Regions from separate parts of the Homo sapiens genome. Here regions 1 and 3 are each linked to region 2. The links are contacts of gene promoters, found by promoter capture Hi-C in blood cells and fetal thymus (Javierre and others, 2016). All regions are on one chromosome and are shown on one strand. The core of a region is centred on a gene start or on the middle of the fragment in contact, and the rest is flanking DNA. Distances in the headings are between cores, read along the strand shown.

Region 1 (3,648 bases), core at 528-3,027, 130 kb before region 2:
TGTCGCCCAGGTGGGAGTGCAGTGGTGCGATCACGGCTCACTGCAGTCTTGATCTCCTGGGCTCAGGTGATCCTGGGATTACAGGCATGCACCACCATCCTTGGCTAATTTTTGTATCTGTATTTGTATTAAAAATTTTTTTTTTTAGTAGAGACGGGGTTTCACCATGTTGGTCAGGCTGGTCTCGAACTTCTGACCTCAGGTGATCCACCCGCCTCAGCCTCCCAAAGTGCTGGGATTACAGGCGTGAGCCACCGCGCCCGGCCTTAATTTTTACATTTTTAGTAGAGACGGGGTTTCGCCGTGTTGCCCAGGCTGATCTCCAACTCTGAACTCAAGCGATCTGCCTGTCCTGGCCTCCCAAAGTAATGGGATGACATTCACGAGCCACTGTGCCTGGCCATCCCCATTTTGTAGGTGAGAAAATTGAGATGGAGAGAGGTTGAGTGATCTGCCTGAGATCCTATGGCCAGTGAGCAGTGAGTCTAGCTGCGGAGTACAGGTTCTGAAGCAGGATGCGAGACCGCCTGCACGTGCGCATGGATGATCTTGAACTTCCCCTTCATTCACCAACTGTAGACCCCATGTGGGTGGTCACCGAGACGGTATGCGGCTGAACCAGGCAGTGGATGCCAAGGACCTCGTCATCATCGTCACCACCACAATAACAATACTCTACACTCTGTTTGTCACATGACAAGCTCTATGTTGGAAACAGTATGTGTATCTATATTAGTTCATCCTCACAATTAACCCCTGAAACATCGTCATATTATTCTCTTTTTAAGACTTACTGAGTCTTGCTCTTGTTGCCGAGGCTGGAGTACCATGGCGCAATCTCGGCTCACTGCAACCTCTACCTCCTGGGTTCAAGTGATTCTCCTGCCTCAGCCTCCCGAGTAGCTGGGATTACAGGCATGCACCACCACGCCCGGCTAAGTTTTTATATTTTTAGTAGAGACGGGGTTTCACCATGTTGGCCAGACTGGTTTCAAACTCCTGACCTCAGGTGATCTGCCTGCCTTGGCCTCCCAAAGTGCTGGGATTACAGGCATGAGCCACAACGCCCAACCCATCTTATTATTCTCTATCACAAATGAGAACACTGGTTGGGCGCAGTGGCTCGTGCCTTAATCCCAGCACTTTGGGAGGCCGAAGCAGGCAGATCACCTGAAGTCAGGAGTTCGAGACCAGCCTAGTCAGTATGGCGAAAGCCTGTCTCTACTAAAAATACAAAAAATTATCCAGGCGTGGTGGCTCACGCCTGTAATCCCGGCACTTTGGGAGGGCGAGGCAGGCAGAACACCTGAACTCAGGAATTCGAGACCAGCCCAGTCAGCATGACGAAATCCTGTCTCTACTAAAAATACAAAAAATTATCCACGCATGGTGGCTCATGCCTGTAATCTCAGCGCTTTGGGAGGCCAAGGCAGGCGGATCACCTGAAGTCAAGAATTCTAGACCAGCCTGGTCAGCAAGGCGAAAGCCTGTCTCTACTAAAAATACAAAAAATTATCTGGGCATGGCAGTGTGTGCCAGTAGTCCGAGCTATTCGGGAGGCTGAGGCAGGAGAATGGCTTGAACCCAGGAGGCGGAGGTTGCAGTGAGCTGAGATTGCACAGTTGCTCTCCAGCCTGGGGCGACTCTGTCTCTAAACAAGAAAACAAATGAGAACTCGGAGGCTCAGAGAGGTTAGAGACTTGCCTGAGGCACACAACTAGAAAGTAGCAAAATTTGATTTTGAATCCAGGCCGGTCAGACTGTAAAGCTCCTACTTTTTTGTTTGTTTGCTTTAACTTTTTTTTAAAGAAATAGGATCTTGCTGTGTTGCCCAGGTTGTTCTCAAACTCCTGGGCTCAAGCAATCCTCTTACTTCAGCCTCTCAAGTAGCTGAAACTATAGGCACGAGCCATCAAGCCCGGCTTCTTTAATGTTTTTTAAAAATTGAGGTAATTACATTACTTAAAATTGTAACCATTTTAAAGGATATAATTCAGTGGCATTGAGTGGATTCAGAGTGTTGTGACACCATCTCCTCTATCTAGTTTTGAAACATTTTCATCACTCTCCAAGGGGACTGTCTTCCCATTAAGCATTTTCCTCTCCTCTTAGCCTCTAGGAACCATTTACTTTCTGTTTCTGTGACTATACCTGTGCAGGATATTTTCTATAAATGGAATCATACAATATGTGGCCTTTTGTGTCTGGTGTCTTTCACTTAGCATAATGTTTTCTTTTTTTTTTTTTCCGAGACGGAGTCTCACTCTGTCGCCCAGGCTGGAGTGCAGTGGCACAATCTCGGCTCACTGCAACCTCCACCTCCTAGGTTCAAGCCATTGTCCTGCCTCAGCCTTCTGAGTAGCTGGGATTACAAGTGCGGTGCCACCACACCCGGATTATTTTTGTATTTTTAGTAGAGATGGAGTCTCACCTTGTTGATCAGCCTGGTCTCAAACTCTTGACCTCAGGTGATCTGTCTGCCTCGGGCTCCCAAAGTGCTGGGATTACAGGCGTGAGCCACTGTGACCAGCCAGCATAATGTTTTTAAGGTCTATCCGTGTTGTAGCATGAATCAGTACTTCCTTCCTCTTTATGACTGGATACTATTCCATTGTATGATTATGCCACATTTTCTTGACCCATTTATCAGATGGGCGTTTAAGCTGTTTCCACCTTTTGGCTGTTATGAACAGTGCTGCCATGAACATTTATGTACAAGTATTTGTTTGAGTCTTTGTTTTCTTTTCTTTTCTTTTTTTTTTTTCTTTTTTTGAGACAGAGTGACAAAGTTGCTCTGTTGCCCCAGCTAGAGTACAGTGGTCCCATCTTGGCTCATTGCAACCTCTCCCTCCAGGGTTCAAACAATTGTCATGCCTCAGCCTCCCGAGTAGCTGGGACTACAGGTGTGTGCCACTATGCCCAGCTAAATTTTTTGGATTTTTTAGTAAAGACGGGGTTTCACCATGTTGGTCAGGTTGATTTCAAACTCTTTTTTTTTTTTTTTTGAGATGGAATCTCACCCTGTCGCCCAGGCTGGAGTGCAGTGGCGTGATCTTGGCTCACTGTAAGCTCCGCCTCCTGGGTTCATGCCATTCTCATGCCTCAGCCTCCTGAGCAGCTGGGACTACAGGCGCCCGCCACCATGCGCAGCTAACTTTTTGTATTTTTAATAGAGGTAGGGTTTCACCGTGTTAGCCAGGATGGTCTCGATCTCCTGACCTTGTGATCTACCTGCCTCAGCCTCCCAAAGTGCTGGGATTACAGGTGTGAGCCACCGCGCCCAGCCTTGAACTCTTGACCTCAAGCGATCCGTCTGCCTTGGCCTCCCAAAGTGCTGAGATTAGAGGCTCAAAATAGTCTTTGTTTTCAATTCTTTTTTTTTTTTTTTTTTTTTTTGAGACAGAGTCTTACTCTGTCACCCGGGCTGGAGTGCAGTGGTGCAATGTAGGCTCACTGCAATCTCTGCCACCTGGGTTCAAGTGATTCTCCTGCCTCAGCCTCCCGAGTAGCTGGGATTACAGGCGCCTGCCACCGTGCCTGGATAATTTTTTTGTAGTTTTAGTAGAGACAGGGTTTCACTGTCTTCGCCAGGCTGGTCTTGAACTCCTGACATCGTGATCCACCTGCCTCGGCCTCCCAAAGTGCTGG
Region 2 (3,413 bases), core at 813-3,312:
GGGCTGCCTCCAACAGTGCCAGCAGTTCTGGGCCAGCTGAGGGACTGGGGGTGGTGAACAGGATGCCCTGGGGCACAGGTAGCTGCTCTGCTGGTTCCAAAGTGGGCCTGGGCACAGCCGAGGGCACCTCCACCCCCAGGTCTCCCGCCAGTAGACTCAGTAGAGCATCCCCAGCAAGGTCTGAGGTGGGAGCGAGGGCTGCGCTGCGAAGCACAGCTGCCAGTTGTGGGTTGGTGGCTCGGGCCCCAGCGCCCAGGGGTGTCCCATCAGCATGGCAAAGTAGTGGACAGAGGCCTTCTGTGCCCCGAGCCACCAGAGCCCTTGCCAGGGGTGTGTCCACCAGGAAGCCCTCCTGAGCCAGCGTGGTGGGGCCCACTAGCAGGCGTGGCCAGGGCAGGCGGCCGAAGCGTGCATGCAGCAGGTGCAGGGTGGGCAGAGCCGCGGGCAGCCCCAGGCCGGGGGCCAGGGTCTGTGCTGGGCCTGATGTCAGGGCCGTGGAATTGCCTGAGGAGCTATCGTGGAAGAGGCCCCAAAACATGGCACCTGCAGGAGACAGAGGGGTCCCTCAGCAGCCGCAGGTCAAGGGTCACTGACTTGTTTCAGTCAAGATCCCTTGACTGAGCCTGGGATCAGGAGTTACTGACCAGGCCTGAGGTCAAAGTTCCACAGACCCGGGCTCAAGGGTCATAGCCTGGGGTTGGACTGCTGCCCAAACCCTAAGTCCTGCTCACTTAGCAGTCTTGAGGTCAGTGCTACTGACTCCCTAAGTTCCAGGTCACTGATCAGGCTGTGGGTTGGGGTTGCAGTCTGGGGTCAGGGGTCACTGACCTAGCCCCGTGGCATGAGGATGCACCACTGCCAGGCACAATGCAGCTCCAACTCCAGCATCCACGACGTTGCCCCCGGCAACAAGCAGCTCTCGGCCTAGGTGGGAGCATGTGGCTGCAGCAAGGAAGGCACTGTCATGCAGCAAGGAGGGGGGCTAGGCTGGGCTGGTGACCCCTGACCCTCCCCTCCCCAAGCCGCCCCCAGCACTGACTGACCTGCAGGGCTGATGATGGCACCGTGGTGGTATACGCCAGGGCCGTGGGAGTGTCCGCCGGGTGGAGGGGCCACAGAGCCCAAGCTTCCTGTCGACCTGCCCTGATTCTGGAGCTGCCTCACAGCCAGGGAGCAGCCAACAGCCAGCAGCAGCAGGGCTGCCACTACACGGGCCCAGGTTCCGGGCAGCCCGCCAGCCTTGTTCCTGCAGAGGGGGGGTGTCCTGAGCCACGGCTGGGACAGAGGGATGCCCAAGGACCCCAAGAGACCCCAGGGAATATTTCCCAAAAGGTTTGATTTAGCAAGAGGAGCACAAGTCAGCCAAGGAGAAAGGGCTTCTTGGCAGCGGGTGCATCTTGGGCAGACATGGGGATGGGAAAGCATCTGGGGAAACTGAGCCTAGCTAGGGAGGGAGCCTCTGGAGGGGAGATTGGTGGGGCAGAGTCCACTCAGGTGGGAGGGAGGCCCAGTGGGGTGTGGCAGGCAGGAGAGAAGGGGCTGGGGAGCAGGCCCAGCCAGGCGTAGTCAGGCCCCAACCTGCCCAGCAGGTGCCTCCTGCACCAGGACTTGGGGGCTGGGGACCTTTGACAAAGCAGCAGATGGGACAGAGGCTGGCTTGGTACAAATGTCCCTCCAGATGCACAGACTTTTGATTGGGTCAGGCCAAGTCTCGGGCTACAGCCTGGGTTTTCCCCCAAATTGACCGTACAGTGCCTGGAGCTAAACCCAGCGGGGAGTCGCCTGGTCCCCCTGAGGGGCTCCAGAGAGAGGGACTTGCCAACCTCAAGCCTGGGGAGCCTGGTGCCCAGACCCCTCCCTTACTTACCTGGAAGAGTCCTGGTGCCTCCGGGGGTTTAGAACCAGCGCCTCTGATGTCTCCTCCTCCTCCACTTCCTCCTCCGACTCCAAGCTTGGCTCCCAGGGCAGCAGCTTCTGATAGACCACGGGCTCTTCTGCCCGCTCCATGGCCCCCCAGTGCTCGCCCCAGCCCTCCTGCCTGCCAGCCTTTCCGGCTGTGTCTCAGAGGCCCTGCCCAAGCCTGGCAGGTGGGAGGTGGCAGCGACCTTGGGGAAGGGTGGGGGTGGAATCCAGAACAGGTCTGGGCAGGGCACGGGGCCAAGGAGGCTGCATGTGAGCCTGCCCCATTAGGACACAAGGCCCGAGGAGCTCTCGCGACAGGGTTCCCGGGGTGACTGCCTGTAAGGGGCCACAGCTCAGTGAGGTCGAGAAGGAGTTCAGCCTTAATGCCACAACCTTGATACTCAGGGCACCTGCTGGGCTCCTCCCCTTGGGGGATGTAGCCCATGGATCCCACCCACCTGGGACTCTAGGGACTGTGGACTTGAATTAGAGCTACGGTTTCACGGTGGCTTGGGTCAGAGCTCCCACGTGCTTGAGTCTGCACGTGACTAGGTTCTGGCGTAGGGGTGTCTGGTCTCTGGCCGGGGTCAAGGCTCAGCCTGTGGCTACTCTGGGTCTGGGTTTCTTTGAGGAGCAACTTGGTTCGTAACTCCCTGTGCGTGTTTTGCGACTCTTGTCCAGAAGGTAGCGCCACAGCCTGGAAACCAACATTTCTAAATTCATTCTGGGATTCCCATCAAGGACTTGTTGCAAAACAGTGCTGTTTGTAACAGTCCCAAATTGGAAAGTGCCCAAACATCCATTATCGTTAGAATGAATGATGTAAGTCACAATGGACCACTCTGCAGCAAAGAGAGTGAGTGATCTACAATTATATGCAATAATATACACAGGTCTGACAAGCATAAGGACGAGGGAAAGCAGCCAGGCAGGAGACAGCGCACGCTATATGCTTTCATTTACACAAAGTACACAAACAGGCAACAACAAAAGAGCAACAACAGTCTGCCCTTAGAAGTCAGATAGTGACTGGAGGAGGTACCAGGGGGTTTCTGGAATGCTGGAGATGTCCTTTCTTTCCTTCCTTTCTTTCCTTTCCTTTTTCCTTTACCTTTCTTTTCTTTCTCTTCTTTCTTTCTTGACAGAGTTTTCATTCTTGTTGCCCAGGCTGGAGTGCAATGGTGCAATCTCAGCTCACTGCAACTTCCACCTCCTGGGTTCAAGCAATTCTTCTGCCTCAGCCTCCCGAGTAGCTGGGATTACAGGCACATGCCACCACGCCTGGCTAATTTTTTGTATTTTTAGTAGAGACAGGGTTTCACCATGTTGGCCAGCCTGGTCTTGAACTCTTGACCTCAGGTGATCCGCCCGCCTCAGCCTCCCAAAAGTACTAGGATTACGGGTGTGAGCCACCGCGCCCGGCCGAGATGTTGTTTCTTAATCTGAGTGTTGGTGACACGAGTGCCCTGGGTGTGAAAATGCATTGAGTTGGGCATTGATGACGTGTACTT
Region 3 (3,268 bases), core at 452-2,951, 140 kb after region 2:
TGGGACTATTGTGAGATAAAGAAAACAGAAAAACCCCACTGTAATATAACTGACTGATGAAAACCACATAAATTAGAAGAGGGGAATTTAGAGACAAGAGAAAATACATAATCAGCTCCAGCCTCTGATATTGGGCTGAGATAGCAGAGATATAGTTTTGTCACCCTCAATTATGCAGAGTAATGTTAAAGACAAACAGATAGGGTTATCTGTGATAAATCTGGGGCTAAGGTTATTGACCCACCCAGCAAATTGTGACAACCATCTTCCTGGAAGGTAGCATAGAGCTAGGAAGGTCCCAGGAATGAAGGGTGGACACAGAAGATCTCGTGTTTATGGGTCTTGAAGGATGGGTAGAATTTGGGGGAGGTTTAGTGGGAGAGAAGGGAAGATAGGAGATTGTTATAAGGAGCAGCTATTATGGGCTAGAAATATGCCTTCTTAGAATCAGTGCCTTCACCCGGACAAGATGGTGGGGGTTCAAGCTAGAATGGGAGCAATGAGAAAGATGGAAAAGAGTGGACAGATCTGAAAACTACTCAAAGGATAAAATCAACAGGACTTGACAGATTGCTTATGGAGGTGTATGAAGAAGAGTTTAGAATTACTTGAGTGTCTAGCTTGCAGAACTGAATGGTTATCAGATTCCATTCTTATAGAAGTCCAAAGGCTCCTAACCCGGCCTAAAACGCTCTGCATGACCCGACCACTGCCTACCCATCTCACCAGTCTCATCTGTACCCACTCTCTTCCCCTCCACATCTGAGCCCCAGGAACGATGCCCTTCTTTCCAGTTCCTTCCTACCACAGGGTCTTCCCACATGAGCTCTCCTCTGACTGAACAGCCCCTCCCATATTTTTTCCCTACCCAACCCCTATTCATCCTTAGGGTCTCAGCTTAAACGCCGGTTTCTTTGGAAAAATCTCTGCCAGTCTTCAGATAAGGTTAGAGACCCCTGATATTCAATTCTCATCTTGTTTCGCAGCATTTTGTGTATCGCCACCACGTCTGTAACCGGAGCGCCTAGTACAGTATCTGACCCTCAATAAGAGCTCGGTAAATGTTTATTGTTGAATGCGTCATTCAGTCAGTCGAAACAATCCCCGAAACAGATATTGCCAGAGGAAAAAGAGACTTTTAGATTATACAACTAGTGAGTGACCGGGCCTGGAACCTAATCGATTCCTGTGTGCCGACCAATAGCCTAACAACAGAAAAATAAGGCCCATTTTTCCCCTGGAGAAACTCATGGCCGATAAAGGAGAAATACGTGCATCCCGTCCGGACTGATACCTGGATCCCCTTTCTGCCCGCAGCTCTCCTTCCTTCAACCTCCCTATCGCACTTGCACTGCACCGTAATCCCGGCGCACAGGTGCCGCGCCATCCTCCCCACAGGGCCGCGGGCACGCGGGCCACGGACTCACCTGGGCCCCGCCCACCGACCCATGCAGCCGCAATAGGCACATGAGCCCGGGCAAATGTGGGGCCGAGCGGTTTGGGGGATGCACCGGAGCAACGGCAGACCCCGTTCGAGGTTGCAGCAAACCAGAAACACTCTCCAGCAGCAGCAGGCGGAGCCGCGGGCCCGAGCTCACTGCCGAGAGACCCCCGGTCCCGCCAGGAACCCCAGCCGCGGAGCCCGCAGAGGGCCCACTCAGAACGGCTGCCGCCATCTTCCCCCGGGTTCCAGTGGTGGCGTGGCGCGATGACGCAAACACACCGCGACGGCCGCCTACTGGGGAGGGGGCGTGGGGAGGGGGCTGCGGTCTTGCGCACTGAGTGAAGGCAGGCTGGACTCGCGGGCTCAAGCTGGGAAGGAGCATGCGCGGAGAGAGCAGCCTGGGCGCCGAGGCAGCGGGGTGCTCGGTTCCCGGAGTGATGGCGGATGAGGCTGCCTGTGAGCGTGTCCGAGGCGGTCCTGTGATGTTAAAGGTACACGTGGTCCGGACAAAAGGCGCCAAAGTCGGAACGATTTCCATTTAGCGGACGGAGTCTTGGGACATCTTCGCTGTAGGAATCAATAACTCTCATTTTTTTTTTTTGAGACGGAGTCTCGCTCTGTGGCCCAGGCTGGAGTGCAGTGGCGCGATCTCGGCTCACCGCAACCTCCACCTTCCAGGTTCAAGCGATTTCCCTGCCTCAGCCTCCCGAGTAGATGGGATTACAGTCGCGCGCCACCACGCCCGGCTAATTTTTTTTGTATTTTTGTAGAGATGGGGTTTCACCATGTTGGCCAGGATGGTCTTGAACTCCTGACCTCAGGTGTTCCGCCCGCCTTGGCCTCCCAAAGTGCTGAGATTACAGGCATGAGCCACCGCACCCTGCCTAGGAATCAGTAACGTGTGTGTGTGTGTACGCGCGCCAAAGATTTATTTCTTCATTTCTTGCATTTCAAGTACTCTTCGATGTCATCCTTGGCCTGAGACTCCTTGCCATAGTCCTTAACTACTACACAACTGCAACCAACCACTTTACGGGGTTTCCCCTCTCTGTCGATTTTTACAGAGCCCTACCCATTCTCCTAGTTTCTTGTTGTCATCAACCTTAATTAGGTTGATTTGGTGTTCAGCACAAAGGCCTCCACCAACTTGACATACATAGTAGGCTCATCATAGTTGGATGCAAGCACACAAAGATGGGCTTGGCGTTTGTCTAAGGCTTTGGCAGCTTCGCGAATTCCACGTGCTAGGTCATGGTGGATGAGAGCGGTCTTCAGCACCTCTTGTGAAGCAGTATTAACATCCATTACCCCTCCAGCAGCAATGCCTTCCTCGGCCGTGGCGGTGGGTTACAAGTGAAGCTGAATCTTGAAGGTACCCAAGCCTCCGCCTCCGCGCAACTCGGCAGCGGCAGGGAAAGAGAAGGAATCAATAACTCTCTAGGTAACTTGAAATCACAGACATTTTTAACTACATTTGCAACTTCAGAAATGATACAAGACGTGCGCCTTGCAAAAGCCAATTCAAACAGTACAGAAAGGCATAAAGTAAAAAGAAAAACTGCTCCTCCCCCGCAAAGCCCTGCCCCAGTAGCGTGTATACTTTCCTAATATTAGTCTATGCACAAGCACATAAATGAATATTTTACAAGATTGGGGTCTGCGTGTGGCTTGTTTTCACTCATGGCCTTCTTTATGCTGTTTTTTAAACTGTGGTATGAATGAAATGGGTGCACCATGATTTAATAATTCTATTGCTGAATTAATGCTTAAAGGCTGCTCCAGCTTTTTGCTAATGCAAACTGTAGTGAACACGCTAATACCTCT

The links. Contacts are between HindIII fragments. The CHiCAGO score rates a contact against its expected background, and 5 or more counts as called.
Region 1: a fragment that was not itself captured here is called in contact with the fragment with the promoter of GGT6 in region 2 in 5 of 17 cell types (M0 macrophages, M2 macrophages, endothelial precursors and 2 more); the score reaches 11.5 in M0 macrophages.
Region 3: the fragment with the promoter of PELP1 here is called in contact with the fragment with the promoter of GGT6 in region 2 in 2 of 17 cell types (M2 macrophages and M0 macrophages); the score reaches 7.1 in M2 macrophages.

Annotation. Positions count from the first base shown.
Region 1 is chr17:4,427,149-4,430,796 of GRCh38, forward strand. No RefSeq gene overlaps it. Among named protein-coding and RNA genes, the nearest start is that of SPNS3, 5.0 kb to the right of the region's middle. The HindIII fragment of the contact is 9,473 bases long and covers 1-3,648 here.
Region 2 is chr17:4,558,515-4,561,927 of GRCh38, forward strand. GGT6 (gamma-glutamyltransferase 6) reads right to left here and starts at 2,063. Exons shown (of 4, transcript NM_001288702.2): 1 at 1,868-2,063; 2 at 1,044-1,246; 3 at 829-942; 4 at 1-543. The coding sequence starts at 2,007. The HindIII fragment of the contact is 2,996 bases long and covers 1,950-3,413 here.
Region 3 is chr17:4,702,436-4,705,703 of GRCh38, forward strand. It overlaps PELP1 (proline, glutamate and leucine rich protein 1), which reads right to left and starts at 1,702. Exons shown (of 17, transcript NM_014389.3): 1 at 1,428-1,702. The coding sequence starts at 1,676. PELP1-DT (PELP1 divergent transcript) reads left to right here and starts at 1,795. Exons shown (of 2, transcript NR_103482.1): 1 at 1,795-1,935; 2 at 2,764-3,094. It also overlaps the pseudogene RPS12P29. The HindIII fragment of the contact is 30,411 bases long and covers 1-3,268 here.